Linked DNA regions of Homo sapiens: all the other regions are linked to region 1. The links are contacts of gene promoters, found by promoter capture Hi-C in blood cells and fetal thymus (Javierre and others, 2016). All regions are on one chromosome and are shown on one strand. The core of a region is centred on a gene start or on the middle of the fragment in contact, and the rest is flanking DNA. Distances in the headings are between cores, read along the strand shown.

Region 1 (4,478 bases), core at 1,538-4,037:
CCTACAAGACCACCAGAGCTGTTTCTAAGTAGTCCCCAGTGCATGCACCTGTCTCTCCTTTAAGCAGGGCTCTGTGGCTTAACCCCAGAACCCCACGCTACTCCAAAGAGCACTGCCTGCTACTCCGTGGCATCTGACCACCTGGTCCAAAACCAAAATATGCTGAATTTAATCTTAAGAATATACATCCTGTTACACTTTAACTTCATAAGAGAGAGTGCATTTACACAAGACCACAATCACAACATCAAAGGCCCACATAAATCAAGTTACAGGTTTTGTCACTAGACCAAACCAGAATAATTTTGAAAATTAACTGCTTACAAAACATTAAAAAAAAAAAAAAGAAAAATAGTTATTCTGTAGGATACATCAGGTATGACTCCTTTAATCTTGGCCATCATTCAACTTCATCTTGACCTTTAACTCTTTAAGTGCTTGTCAGAAGGACTTGTCATGAGATGCTTGGCCAAATATGACAGATGGCTTTATCTTTAACTTTGAAAAACAACCTTTTCCCCCTTTTGTAGATAAAGCGAGGCTTTGTCTCCCATTAGGCTTGTCCTTCTTCCAGCTTTTCTTTATTTTTTCTTTTCCCAAACTCTCCCTTCTCTTCAAGCCTGATCCTTAAGAGGTCTTTGGCTTGTCTACTTGCCTTAAGTGTTGAACTCTACTCTAAAGGTTCTTTCATGCTTTCTCTTTGGGGTCGCCATAACTGTACAGCTTTACATTCTCTGAGGTAACAACAGAGGACAGCAAATTAGGGGACAATATTAAAGAAGTTTACCTCATTGTTATACAATTTGTTTTTGATCAAGTGATTCAAATTAACAAACAAGAATACCAAATTTTAATTGCTAAGCACAAGAACATATTAACTTTTAAAGGACTTACATTAAAGGTAGTAGCAACCAGAGTGCATTCAAATTTAAATCACATATATAATCATCGATATGAGTTTCAGAAGCATGAATGGGAATTTATATATTTTACCATTTTTGGATTAACTTTAATAACGAGAGCAATGTGTGAGTCAGAATTAATTTTCAAAAATTTGAAGACAGACATTTATTAGAGGACAAAAAGAACTACTTTTTAGATGTTACCACTTACATAAACTTGAATTTCAAACTTCAACACCCCTCACTAATCAGCCATCTGAAGAAAGGATATTGAACATAAGCAAATCCTCTTGGACGGCGAGTGTAGAAATCAAGTGGAACATACACATCAACTATAGGACCATAACGACCAAATTCACGCCGCAAGTCTTCAGACCTAAAACATCATAAAAAGACCTCAAATTTTTATGTCCAAGTCCTTAAGATGTATAGGCAATATATCTTTTTGATGAAGGAAAGCTAGGATCCAAGAATTTGGAAGATAAAAATGCAGTTTACATTAACAGGACAACAGCAGACATATGTATGGTACAAGGGAATGACCACAACTTATTTTTATCTACAGCCGTCATTTTTCATAAAAGGTACAGCAGCATTAGGTTGTATATAAGCCTTGTTTTTTTTTTTTTTTTTACTTTTACAGCATCAAATCGACTCTAGCACTCTGAAAAATACCAAGCACTTATTTTTACTCCCCAATTTTAGCGACAGATTTACACACTTAACAGTAGATAAATATGGTCTGAAAAAGTCACAAATATCGAACTTCTTAAATAGTTAAGTGTCAAGATGACGTAAAGAGAAAATTTCTCTAGATGCTAACGTAACTATTAGAAATTATGGAAAGAATTATTTATGGAAAGAATTATTGCTTTCTTTCCTTCTTAAATTTAAGACAAAAGCAAATCACAAAGCTAGCAAAAAACCCCCACGAAACACCAAAAACCCAAACCACTTATTTTCTGTGTGTAGATTCATTATTTGTGAAATAAAAAGCCTCATCTTGTAGTAAGAACTCTTCCAAAATAATCTGAAGGCAACTCGAAACAAGGGAATGGTGAGAACAAAGCCTATTTAAGGTACGTCTGAATTAATCTAACTTAGCTGTCAACGTCCTAATGACTGACGCTTCCCAAACCTCCCTTTTCAAAGGGTGACCAGAATTTCCAGGAAATAAGAAAAACTACTCGCAACATTTAACTGGAAAAATCTAACTCCCCAAATCTCAACGCTCCCTTTCTCCAAACACCTCCAACTGATTAAAACCCCCAAATATTAACAACGGCAACAACAACAAAGATAAATGGTAGCAACATTCCTCTCCCTCGATCCCGTTATTTCATCTCACTATTTTTTGGCTGGGGAAAAAAAAAAATCTCTGGGCCAAGGGGGCGTGAACCTCGAAGAATGTGAACTTCAAATCAATGGGGGGCGGCCGTCGGGTCGCGGAAAGGCCGCGGCGGGGGGCTGCTCGCGCCGGCAGGAAGCAGGGAGAAAGGGGCTGCAAACTGCGGAGGGGGAGGGGGACCGAAAAACCCCGCCACGCGGCCCGGCGAAGGCAGAGGCGCCGCCCTCGCTCCCACGCGGCGGCTGAGGCCCGCTGCGCGGCCTAGTTCGGCGCCAAAGCGGGCGCGGGACCCGCCATCTTCACTCCGTCCCCTCCCCCGGCCCAGTGCCGCCACCACCAGGGTCCTCTCCAGGCGCCTGCGGCCTCCCCGCCTAGGCCCGGAGTACCTGCCTTGTACCTACCTGGTGTCGTCGGCCACGTTCCTGACGAACAGAGACGTGTTGGGGGGACGCAGGTAGCGGGACATGGCGGCGGCGTGTCTCGGCCGGGCGCACTAACGGGCTCAGCAAACCGTCCGCGGCTCAGGCGGCCGAGCCTCAGACACACACAGCTAGAGGGCTCTGCTACGGCAACCGACTCTTCTCGCGAGACTTCACTCCCGCCTCCACTTCCCCCTCCTACCTCCGCGCAAAGTCGGGCGCAACGGTTCTTTCCCGCGAGAACACCAGGCGTCCGCCTGCGCATGCGGAGGGCTGGCGCACGCGCCTCAGCGTCGGTGTCATTCGTTGGCTTCTTGCGGTGCCTCTTACCCTCCCCCAAGCCTGTTCTTTCTTTCTTTAGGTCTTCATTTCCCGCCGTTTTCTACCTTACACTCCACTTCATCTCCACCCCCAAATCAGGAAGCAGATGTTTTAGTCTCTAGGCCAAACTTTGCGGTTACTACTAAATGGACAGATTTTTAAACTATTTAGTTCAGAGAGGCTGCCTTAAATTTCCCGGTTGGTCCAAGTTAATGTCCTGCTTTTATTTTGCCTTAAATTTCCCGTTTGGTCCAGGTTATGCCCTGACCTGCGAAAGAAGGATTTACAGCTTGTATTGAGTGTGTAAAGGAAGGAGGTGTGTGCCCTTGCGCAGAGCTGGGCCTGTCTCTCCAGTGTTTTCAGCCTGCCTTTGCCCCTCACCCACACCCTAGCCATCTCCACTTAGTCACGCATTTGGCTCCCAACCTGGGTGGGACCAAACCTCACACTGTAGGTTCATGACTGTGGTCATTTGTAGTGTATTCTTTGTTGCTGACGGCTTCCTGGGTATGCATCGGACCTGTATTGCAGCAGTTCTCAAACTTTTTGGTCTCAGAACGCCTTTATATTCTTGTGTATTACGGAAGATTCCAAAGAGCTTTTTTTAAAAAAAGTGTGGGTTATACCTATTAATAAATAGTTAATGAGAACTTAAAATAGAGGAAACTTCGGCTGGGCTCGGTGGCTCACGCCTGTAATCCCTCCCTGTACTTTGGGAGGCCGAGGCGGGCAGATCACGAGGTCAAGAGTTTGAGACCAGCCTGACCAACACAGTGAAACCCCATCTCTACTAAAAATACAAAAATTAGCCAGGCGTAGTGGCGCGCGCCTGTAATCCCAGCTACTTGGGAGGCTGGGGCAGAAGAATCGCTTGAACTCGGGAGGCAGAGGTTGCAGTGAGCCGAGATTGCACCACTGCATTCCAGCCTGGGCGACAGGGTGAGACTCCGTCTCAAAAAAGAAAAAAAAAAAAAATAGAGAAAACTTTGACACACTCCACTACCCTTTATCACACATCATGTACCCTCTGGAAAACTCCACGTTTGTAAGAGAATGAGCATGAAAATAGCAAATAATCTTTAGTATGGTTTTGATTTTGGAGGCCCTTTTGAGAGCCATTTCCTGCTCGATAAGAGTCAACTTCTGGAGATGAGAGACTTCAGTTGGAATGCCTCCAGCGTGTGGCACAGTGCCAAGCAGGTAGCAGGGACTCAAGTACTGTTAAATTAAATGAACTTTTATTTAATAAAAAGTCATAAAGGCATTATTTTTGTGTCAATCAGCATCTAAGACAATTAAGTGATTCGATACAGGTGATGATAGTTTGTAGCACTCTGTAGCAGAGCTATTCTAAATTTTTGTTTCCCAAGATTTGCATGCTTAATTTATTAAAATGTTGGGCCAGGCAAGGTGGCCCCAAAATCCCAGCATTTTGGGAGGGTGATGTGAAAAACAAAACAAAACAAAAAAAAGTTTGATTCCCTGTTA
Region 2 (4,683 bases), core at 1-2,500, 410 kb after region 1:
AAAACAATGATTGACAAATGTGGAAAACACAAAGGTGTATATTAAAGTTTTATTTTAAATGGTAGAGAAGAGAAACTTGCCTTTTGACAGGAAACAGACACGAAACCGGATTAAAAAAAAAATTCCCCACTTTCTTTCCCTCTCGGCAATTTATCGGACTTCCCCCCTCCAGCTCTTAAATTAGTGAGATGTGGTCACATAAAGTACCTTAAACAGGCTGTCCCGGAGAAAAGGAAGGAGATGATAGTAAAGACATTCTTGCCAGGCAGGAAGGAGACAGCAAAACTATTCTGGGAGCAGCCTGGACGAGGCGCGGTCAGGACAGAGGAAGCGTCCTCACTGCTCCTTGGCCTAGATTCAGACACCAGCATTAGGCCGTTAAAATCCAAAGAGGTTAGGGAAATCCCAGCCTGGGGCTGGCTCTCACTTTTCAGGGCACTGTGCAAGACAGGTGTAAGTTTTCGTTTCTGTTTTGAGCAGACATGGGGTTAAAAAGCAGAAAGGGATCATCTATAGAAACTGAAGTTAAAAGTTCCTTTGTCTAGGCTGCGATGTATACATGCATGTCTGATGTATAAACTCCCCTCCTGCTGAGACTTCCACAACTGCTAGAACTTGGCAGCATCTGTCTGCATAGCAGGTTGATTATAGACTCTAACCTGTAAGTGTAATGGACTCTGACTCCAGTTTTTTGATGTTTGATGGCTGATAGCTCTTCAGCTTCACCACTCCCTCATTCCCTTCTGCCCTACCACTGGGCAAGCGGATGAGAAAGCCCAGAGCTCCCTCCTGTGGCACCAGCTGGAAGTTCAAACCACGCAGACCCCTGCCCTCAGTCCAGCCTCGCTTTCCAACCATAAGAAAACCCCCAAGCCAGGCTCCTTTCCCTGCTCTCTCAAGCCATTATTGGATCAGGTTAGGAAGGCTGTGCTGCTGTCCTCAGAAGGCCTCACTATGTGGGTGATAAGCCTTTTCCTACACTCTTCATGAGCGTGTGTGTGGCACCGTAAGTCTTGACATCCAAACCAAATTTTGGGTGGGGGGGTGCATCCTGACTCTGTAGGCTGTTCACAACAGTAAGCCAAATTATTTTAACATCAGAATCCTAACCTTCAGAGAGGAAATACGCGCAGAAATGGGGGAAAAAAAACAGTCAAGAGAAGGAAAGAAGAAAGTATGTGTTAGCCATGACAGAGGGTGGTTTGTATGGAAACTATCAGTAAGGCTCATTTCTTCATCTCTGAATTTTTTTAAAAAACAATACTCCTTTTCAGAGCAGGAAGCCTGAAGACAACAGGGACCCCTCAAGGGGTACAATCATGAACCAGCTTCACAGTTGAGGAAACTGAGGCTTAGAGGGATTAAGTTACTCATCCGAATCACCCAGCACTTAAGCGGAACAGGTAGGGTGTGAACATGATTTGCCTAATGAGTCCAGGCTCTTGAGCTCTGAGCTGTGCTTCCTCTTCCTGAGCTGGCCTCTAGTAAGTGCTCAATAAACACGATGGGGAGAGGGACACTGAAGCCTAATCTGCCTGGGTGGAGGATGAAGCAAGTAAAAGGAGCTGAATACGTGTTTAAGTAGAAAATATTTGGGGATACCAATATACAGTAAATGTATTCTTCTCCTCCCCTCCCCATTTAAGTAGATGAATGGCTATGTTTTTGGTTTGTTTGCTTTAAGAGAGCTATACAGCAAATCAAAAGGCAGAAGCAGCTGCAAGACTTCCTGGCTTTTGTTTCTAAAAGCCTAAGCCTATAGAACAGCTAAGAGAGTGTGCAGAGGAGGCAGTAAAAAGAGAGTTATTTAAAAAAGGTTAAAGGAAGGACATTCTCCTGGGGAAAGGAGAGGTTTCTGCCTGACTGGAAAGGAGATCCAAGGCTTCTGGCTATAACAGAAATGCATGTGTCAGAGCAGCCCTCTTGATGAAACAATTTAAAAAGTAGAATTTTTGAAAAACACTCTGGATGACTGAACTCCTATTTCTTACCAAAACAGGACTAGATTTGCCCTCCCAGCTGGAAAAAAAAAGTTAAAAATGGGCAAGATATATAAAGCAATCAAGATACTGGACATCAGGCAACAAAGGACAGGGATCCCTGAGAGAAGCAAAGTAAATGAGGTTGGCAATAAGATGGTCCCCAGCTTTCTGCCAGGAGAAAATCTCAAGACCACAGCACAGGAAGAAGGGATCCAGATGGAGCCCCGTGGTCTTCCTGAGTTGAGGAAATAGATCTGGGAGTCCAGAAAGACCAAGACAGCTAAGTTCACAGAGCAGAGTACCAGAGAAGAGAGAGCTACCCAGATGGAGAGCTATGGAGCTCTGCAACGGGGTCCCCTGAGTAAGTTCCTGGGTATTGACCAACACATGGCATGAGAAAACTACCCAGGGCTGGAGAAGGAACCGCCTGGCAGAATTCAAGTGAGCAATCCCTGAGGCTTCCACAGGGCCGGGAATAGCTCCTGTTTTCATGAGTCACAGCGGGAAAACCTCATAATTCATGGAACATAGAGTATGCAGGAGGGTTTCGCCTCAGAAATGGGGCAAAATTACCCCTAGACTAAATACTGCTCTGGTTCCAGCTAACAAAGCTTTAAAGCAGGACCTGAAAAGATCAAACTGTCTCCAAATAATTTAACTGCATCTCAGAACAAAGCACAAGAATATTTATGGGACTACAAAAATAGCACCTAAGAGGTAAAATTCAAAATACCTGGCATTGATAAAAAATTAATAGGAGGAAGAAGGAAAAATATACTTCAAAGTGGGGAGAAAATAAATGATCAAAACCAACTCAGAAATGATACAGATGATAGAATTAGTGGAGAAGAACATTATAACTGCTGCACTAACTGTATTTCATATGTTCAAGAAGCCAGAGAAAAGACTGAACATATTAAGTAGATATGGAAGATATAATGACAAGATCCAAATCGAACTACCAGATGTGAAAACTAAATGTCTGAGATTAAAAATACACTAGATGAGATGAATAGCAAATTAGACATTAGAGGAAAAAAAGATTAGTAAACTTGAAGACCTAGAAATAAAACTATACAAAATAAAACAGAAAAAGGACAAGAAAAAGGATTAGTGAGCTGTGTGGAAACTTTGAGGAGCCTAATATATATGTAATCAGGCTCTCAAAAAAAGAAATATGAGGAGAGAAGAAATAGAAAAAAATAGTTCAAGAAAAAATGGTTGAAATTTTTCCAAATTTGATTAAAAAAACTATTGACTCACAGATTCAAGAAAGTCACTTAACATCAAATACAAGAAACATGAAGAAAATGACACCGTAGGCCAACCATAATCAAATTGCTTAAAAAGTGATAAGAAGAAAATGTTAAAATTGGGCAGAGAAAAAAGACATGTCACATATGAAGAAACAAATACGAGAATGACAGCAGATTGATACTGAAAACAACACCTTTAAGGCAATAAAAGGAAAAAAAAAACCTGTCACCCTAGAATCCTGTACTCAGTAAAAATATCTTCAAAAGCAAAAGCAGAATAAAAACTTTTAAAACTATATAAATATTGAAAGAATCATCAGCAAATGGGAGCTACAAGAAATGTTAAGGGAAGCCCTTCAGGCCAAAGAAAATGATACCAGTAGGAAATCTGAATCACATAAAGGAATGAAGCTCTGGAAATAGTAAATATGTGGGTAAATAGAAAATATAAAATTATGAGTATAAATTGAACAATTTTTTTTTTTTTTTTTTTTTTTAGACGGAGTCTCGTTCTTGCGCCCAGGCTGGAGTGCAATGGCGCTATCTCGGCTCACTGCAAGCTCTGCCTCCCGGGTTCACGCCATTCTCCTGCCTCAGCCTCCCGAGTAGCTGGGACTACAGGCGCCCGCCACCGCGCCCGGCTAATTTTTTGTATTTTTAGTAGAGACGGGGTTTCACCGTGTTAGCCAGGATGGTCTCGATCTCCTGACCTCATGATCTGCCCGCCCCGGCTTCTCAAAGTGCTGGGATTACAGGCATGAGCCACCAAACCCAGCCTTGAATAATTTAAATATAACATTTTAAACATTTAAAAAGTAATGATTACTGGCCGGGTGTGGTAGCCTGTAATCCAGCACTTTGGGAGGCCTCCTCACCAAATTAGCCAGGCATGGTGGCAGGTGCCTGTAATCCCAGCTATTCAGGAGGCTGAATCAGGAGAATTGCTTGAACCCAGGAGGTGTAGGTTACAGTGAGCCAAGACTGCGCCACTGCACCCCAGCCTGAGCGACACAGCAAGGCTCCATCTCAAAAAAAAAAAAATTTATGTAAAGCAAAAATAACAACTGTTTTGTAGGGTTTATACCATATGTACAAGTAAAATGTTTAACAACAATAACATAAAGGCCAGGAAGGGAAAAATAAAAATATACTGTTTTAAGGTTCTTCTACTATATGTGAAGTGTTATAATATCACTTGATGGTAGACCATGATAAGTTAAAGATATATACTATAAACTCTAAAGTATGTAGGGATCAACGAACTTTTTCTAAGGGCCAGATAGTACATATCTGTCTATCTATCTATCCATCTATAGCTATCTATCTATCTATCTATCTATCTATCATCTATCTATCTTATTGATCTATATTTTGAGACAGGGTCTTGCTCTGTTGCCCAGGTTGGAGTGCAGTGGTGCAGTCATAGTTCATTGCAGCCTTGACCT
Region 3 (4,271 bases), core at 656-3,155, 430 kb after region 1:
GCATTAAATTTGTGAGTGGAAGATATGAACAGAAACAGTCTGATTGACAGTAATCAGTTTGGGTATTATCCACTGTTTCACTGGCATCTACTGGTGGTCTTGGAACATATCCCCCTTGAATAAGGGAGGACTACTATAATAATAATGTATGTACACTGTCAACATTTAAGAAAATATGATAAATTACAAAAAAACTTTAAACAATCTGCAATCCATGGCCGAGCGCTGTGGCTCACACCTGTAATCCCAGCACTTTGCGAGGCCGAGGTGGGCGGATCATGAGGTCAGGAGATCCAGACCATCCTGGCTAACACAGTGAAACCCCATGTCTACTAAAAATACAAAAATTAGCTGGACATGGTGGCGTGCACCTGTAGTCCCAGCTACTCAGGAGACTGATGCAGGAGAATCGCTTGAACCCAGGAGGTGAAGATTGCAGTGAGCCAAGATCGCGCCACCGCACTCCAGCCTGGGCAACAGAGCGAGACTCCGTCTCAAAACAAACAAACAAACAAATAAAAAACAATCCCCAATCCTACCACCAAAAGACCACACTGTTAATAATGCTTTCCAGTCTTCTCACTGCATACCTGTGAAGGCAGGATGAGAGCAGGTGCAGGACAGATGTGAACAGAGCACTGCCCAGGTGTGCCTCACTGGTCCACCTGTATAACTGTCCATGACAGGATGGCATGGACCTAGAATCTAAGAAAGAGCAGTGAAGATATACCACTTTCCGAATCAACAACATATGTTTAAGCGATTCCTACGTGGGGGCCAGCGCAGCAGTCCAGAGTATCCAGTCCTGGGTTCAAGGTTATGGCCTGCCACTTAATAGCTCTGATTCTCGATGAGTCACTTAAACTTCTGAGCCTATTTCCTCCTCCATAAACTGGGAGTGATAACAGTACCTTCCTCTTAGGCTGATCCATGTGAAGTGGTTAACACTGCCTATCCTGCAGTAGGCTTGTATTAATGTAGGGTTTTAATATACGCACAGGGATATCGTATTAACAACTTAAAATAATAGCTATCATTTATTGAGCCTGCACAGTCCTAAATGCCTTCTATGGAATACCTTATGCAATTTTTATAATAATCCAGTGAGGTATAATCCCCACTTTTTACAGATGAGAAAACTTAAGTTTGGTGGGGGGTTAAGTGACTTGCCCAAAGTCACATTAGAAGAAAAGTGGAATCAGGCTTTGAACTCAGGAAGTCTGACTTCTACTCACTCCTTAACCTCTATAATAACCTCTCAGGCAGCACACACTAAATATTAACTTGCTAAATTTTGACATTTAGCACCCGAGTGGGTATGATTGGTTTGTTATTATTATTTTTAGAAATAGGATCTTGCTGTGTCGTCCACTTGCTAGAGTGCAGTGGTGCAATCATAGCTTACTGCAACCTCAAACTCCTAGGCTCAAGTGATCCTCCCACCTCAGCCTCCAGAGTAGCTAGGACTACAGACACCTGCCACCACACCTGGCTAGTTTTAAAATTTTTTGTAAAGACAATGTCTCACCTATGCTGCCCAGGATGGTCTCGAAATCCTAGCCTCAAGTGATCTTCTCACCTCAGCTTCCCAAAGCACTGGGATTACAGTGAGCCACCGTGCCTTACCTGGTTGGGTTTCTGAAGTTACAATATTGCATATAGTTTTCAAAATATAAAGCAAATAAGGGATGGCTGGGTGGGGGCAAATATTTGACTCTCTTGAATATTCACAGAATGCTAGGTTTCATCAGAACACAGTTTAAAAACTCCTGGGGGAAGTTCACTGTTGGACAGTTCTAATTGCTAGAAAGTTCCTTCCTGTATCAAAGCTGATTCTCTCTCTCTTTTTTTCTTTTTCTATCCGTCCTAATTCCCACCCTTGGAACCAACTCAAAGTAAGTCTCATTTCTCTTCCACATTGGTGATTTTCAAAATGCAAGTCATAGTCTGTAGTCTTTTGTGAAGTTTTAGTTTGTCATATGCGTGTGTGCATGCTGGGTCACAATATAAAATGCATTTACCATGAGTCACAGTCAAAAGGTTTGAAAGCCACTGTTCTATATGACTATTCTGCAAGAATTTGAAGGCAGTTGTCGTGCCCCACCACCTAAAGACTAATCTTCTTCTCCACATGGGACCTCCCTGGCTTTTGCCACATATCTCCTTGCTGCATGGGGAGCTCCTTTCCTCACCGGACCCAGGCATCGTCCTGCAGTCCTGTCACAAAATTCACGAGACTCTCTGCTCAAACCTTCTTAGGGATGACTTCCCTGACCACCCTCTCTTAAGAAGCACCAACCCATCTCTCTCTAGCCCCTTACTCTGCTTTATCTTTTTCAAAGCACTTTTCACTACCCAACATTATATTGTATGTTTATTACTTTATTTGTTTATGATCTTCCCCAGTAGAAAGTTCAACTCTGAATCTTCAGTCTATTTCCTCACATACAGTATTTGCTCAATTGGCCAGGCATGGTGGCCCACACCCGTAATCCCAGCACTTTGAGAGGCTGAGGGGGAAGGATGGCTTGAGACAGAAGTTCAAGACTACCCTGGGCAACATAGCAAGGCCCTGTCTCTACAAAAATAATAATAATAGTATTGAGAATTTTTAAAATTAGTATTTTCTTCATAAATATTGGTGGAATGAATGAATGAATGAATACTAGAGGTAGACACCTTTTAGCAATTGTGTGTACAGCTGTGCTCAGAATATATTTCCAGCGGGAGTTAGATTCTACAAGGACAGCTCACATGATCACAACTATAGGCACAGTTTCATTTTATCATCTCTTGTGTTTTTAAAAAACGTTATATATGCTAAGTATTACAGTTTACATTATACATGTTACTGTACAGGGTATATAAACATGTACTAAACTATGTATACTGTTACTTTAGATAGAATTTTTTTGGATGTCCTGAGTAGTTTCGTCTGTAGGCGATTTTTATCTACTCAGTTATAAGCATCTTGGAAGCAGCTTACATTTTTTCAAAGCACTCTCAGGTAAATAACCCATTCGATAGTCTTCATAGGCTGAGAAAGTGTATCAGGGAGCTGGAAGGAAATTTAGCGGCGGGCTAGTGACCACCAGGTTCCAATCTCACCCTTTTATTTTACAGATGGGTAAATCGAGGCCCAGAGCAGGGAAGTCGTTTGCTGGGGGACACCCCCTGAGCTGGGGTGAACCTATGAGTAGAGATCAGGTCTTTGGCGTCCACCCACTGCCAGGCACTGAAGCCTCCCAACTTTTGCGCACTCGCGGAGCCTGAGCCAGAAGGGTCGGACGCCCACGCCCCTGGCAGGAGCTCGGTGGAGCAGGCAAGCCCCAGTTGTCACCACTTTTCGGGTGGAAACACCGAGGACACGCCCCGACGCAGGGGCAACTCCCATGGTGGCTTCTTCCCGCCCTCGGGGCTCCACCTAGCTCAGCCCTGGAATTCCGCAAGCACCCGGAGGCCGGGGGGTCTCCGCGGGCGTCCCATGCGGAGGACATGGTGCGCCGTGTCCTCTTCCCCACGACCTCAGGGACCGGTCCCCCCGCCGGAACTGCTTCCTACCTGGTCCGGTCCCGGCAGCTGAATCTGGCCAGCCCAACCTCCCGGTCGCTATGGCACCCACAGGCCTAACATTCGCGAGTCCACCTTCCGCCGTCCGCGAGGTAACTCCAGCCAATGGCATCCTCTGTTTCTTTAACGTGAAAAGTTGTTGACCAATCATTAGAGGCGTTTCAAAGTCCGCAGAGAAGCCGGCCGAATTTTAGGGCTTAGGTTAATTACATCAGGGCCTGTAGCGGGGTGGGGAACTAATAAGAGGTTTATCTAGGCCATGCTTCAAAAATCTTGTGATAAACCAAAAGCCTCAGAATTTTGCTCACTCAAAAATCCTGCTTCAAGGAATATACCTAAAAGAATTAACATTCATCCAAGCCCTGTTTCTTTTTTTTTTGAGACAGAGTCTCGCTTTGTCGAGCAGGCTGTAGTGCAGTGGCGCAATCTTGGCTCACTGCAACCTCCGCCCTCCAGGTTCAAGCGATGCTCCTGCTTCAGCCTCCTGAGTAGCTGGGATTACCGGCGCTCGCCACCACGCCAGGCTATTCTTTTTGTATTTTTAGTAGAGACAGGGTTTCACCACGTTGGCCAGGCTGGTCTCGAACTCCTGACCTCAGGTGATCCACCCGCCTCGGCCTCCCAAAGTGTTGGGATTACAGGCGTGAGCCACCACGCCCGGCCCCAAGCCCTGTTTCTAACAGAAGAAAAAAAAAAAAATT

The links. Contacts are between HindIII fragments. The CHiCAGO score rates a contact against its expected background, and 5 or more counts as called.
Region 2: a contact is called between a fragment that was not itself captured here and the fragment with the promoter of SRSF10 in region 1, in 1 of 17 cell types (M2 macrophages). The highest score is 5.6, in M2 macrophages.
Region 3: a contact is called between a fragment that was not itself captured here and the fragment with the promoter of SRSF10 in region 1, in 1 of 17 cell types (M2 macrophages). The highest score is 7.1, in M2 macrophages.

Annotation. Positions count from the first base shown.
Region 1 is chr1:23,977,540-23,982,017 of GRCh38, forward strand. It overlaps SRSF10 (serine and arginine rich splicing factor 10), which reads right to left and starts at 2,788. Exons shown (of 6, transcript NM_054016.4): 1 at 2,652-2,788; 2 at 1,174-1,278. The coding sequence starts at 2,716. RefSeq lists enhancers at 2,015-3,005, 2,243-2,292, 2,723-3,052, 3,006-3,996, 3,063-3,112. The HindIII fragment of the contact is 15,744 bases long and covers 1-4,478 here.
Region 2 is chr1:24,391,717-24,396,399 of GRCh38, forward strand. All of the region lies in intron 2 of STPG1 (sperm tail PG-rich repeat containing 1), which reads right to left. Among named protein-coding and RNA genes, the nearest start is that of STPG1, 20 kb to the right of the region's middle. RefSeq lists an enhancer at 342-591. The HindIII fragment of the contact is 2,681 bases long and covers 1-2,591 here.
Region 3 is chr1:24,410,113-24,414,383 of GRCh38, forward strand. It overlaps STPG1 (sperm tail PG-rich repeat containing 1), which reads right to left and starts at 3,670. Exons shown (of 9, transcript NM_001199013.2): 1 at 3,562-3,670. It also overlaps a transcript of NIPAL3 not described here. RefSeq lists an enhancer at 3,166-3,285. The HindIII fragment of the contact is 5,021 bases long and covers 1-4,271 here.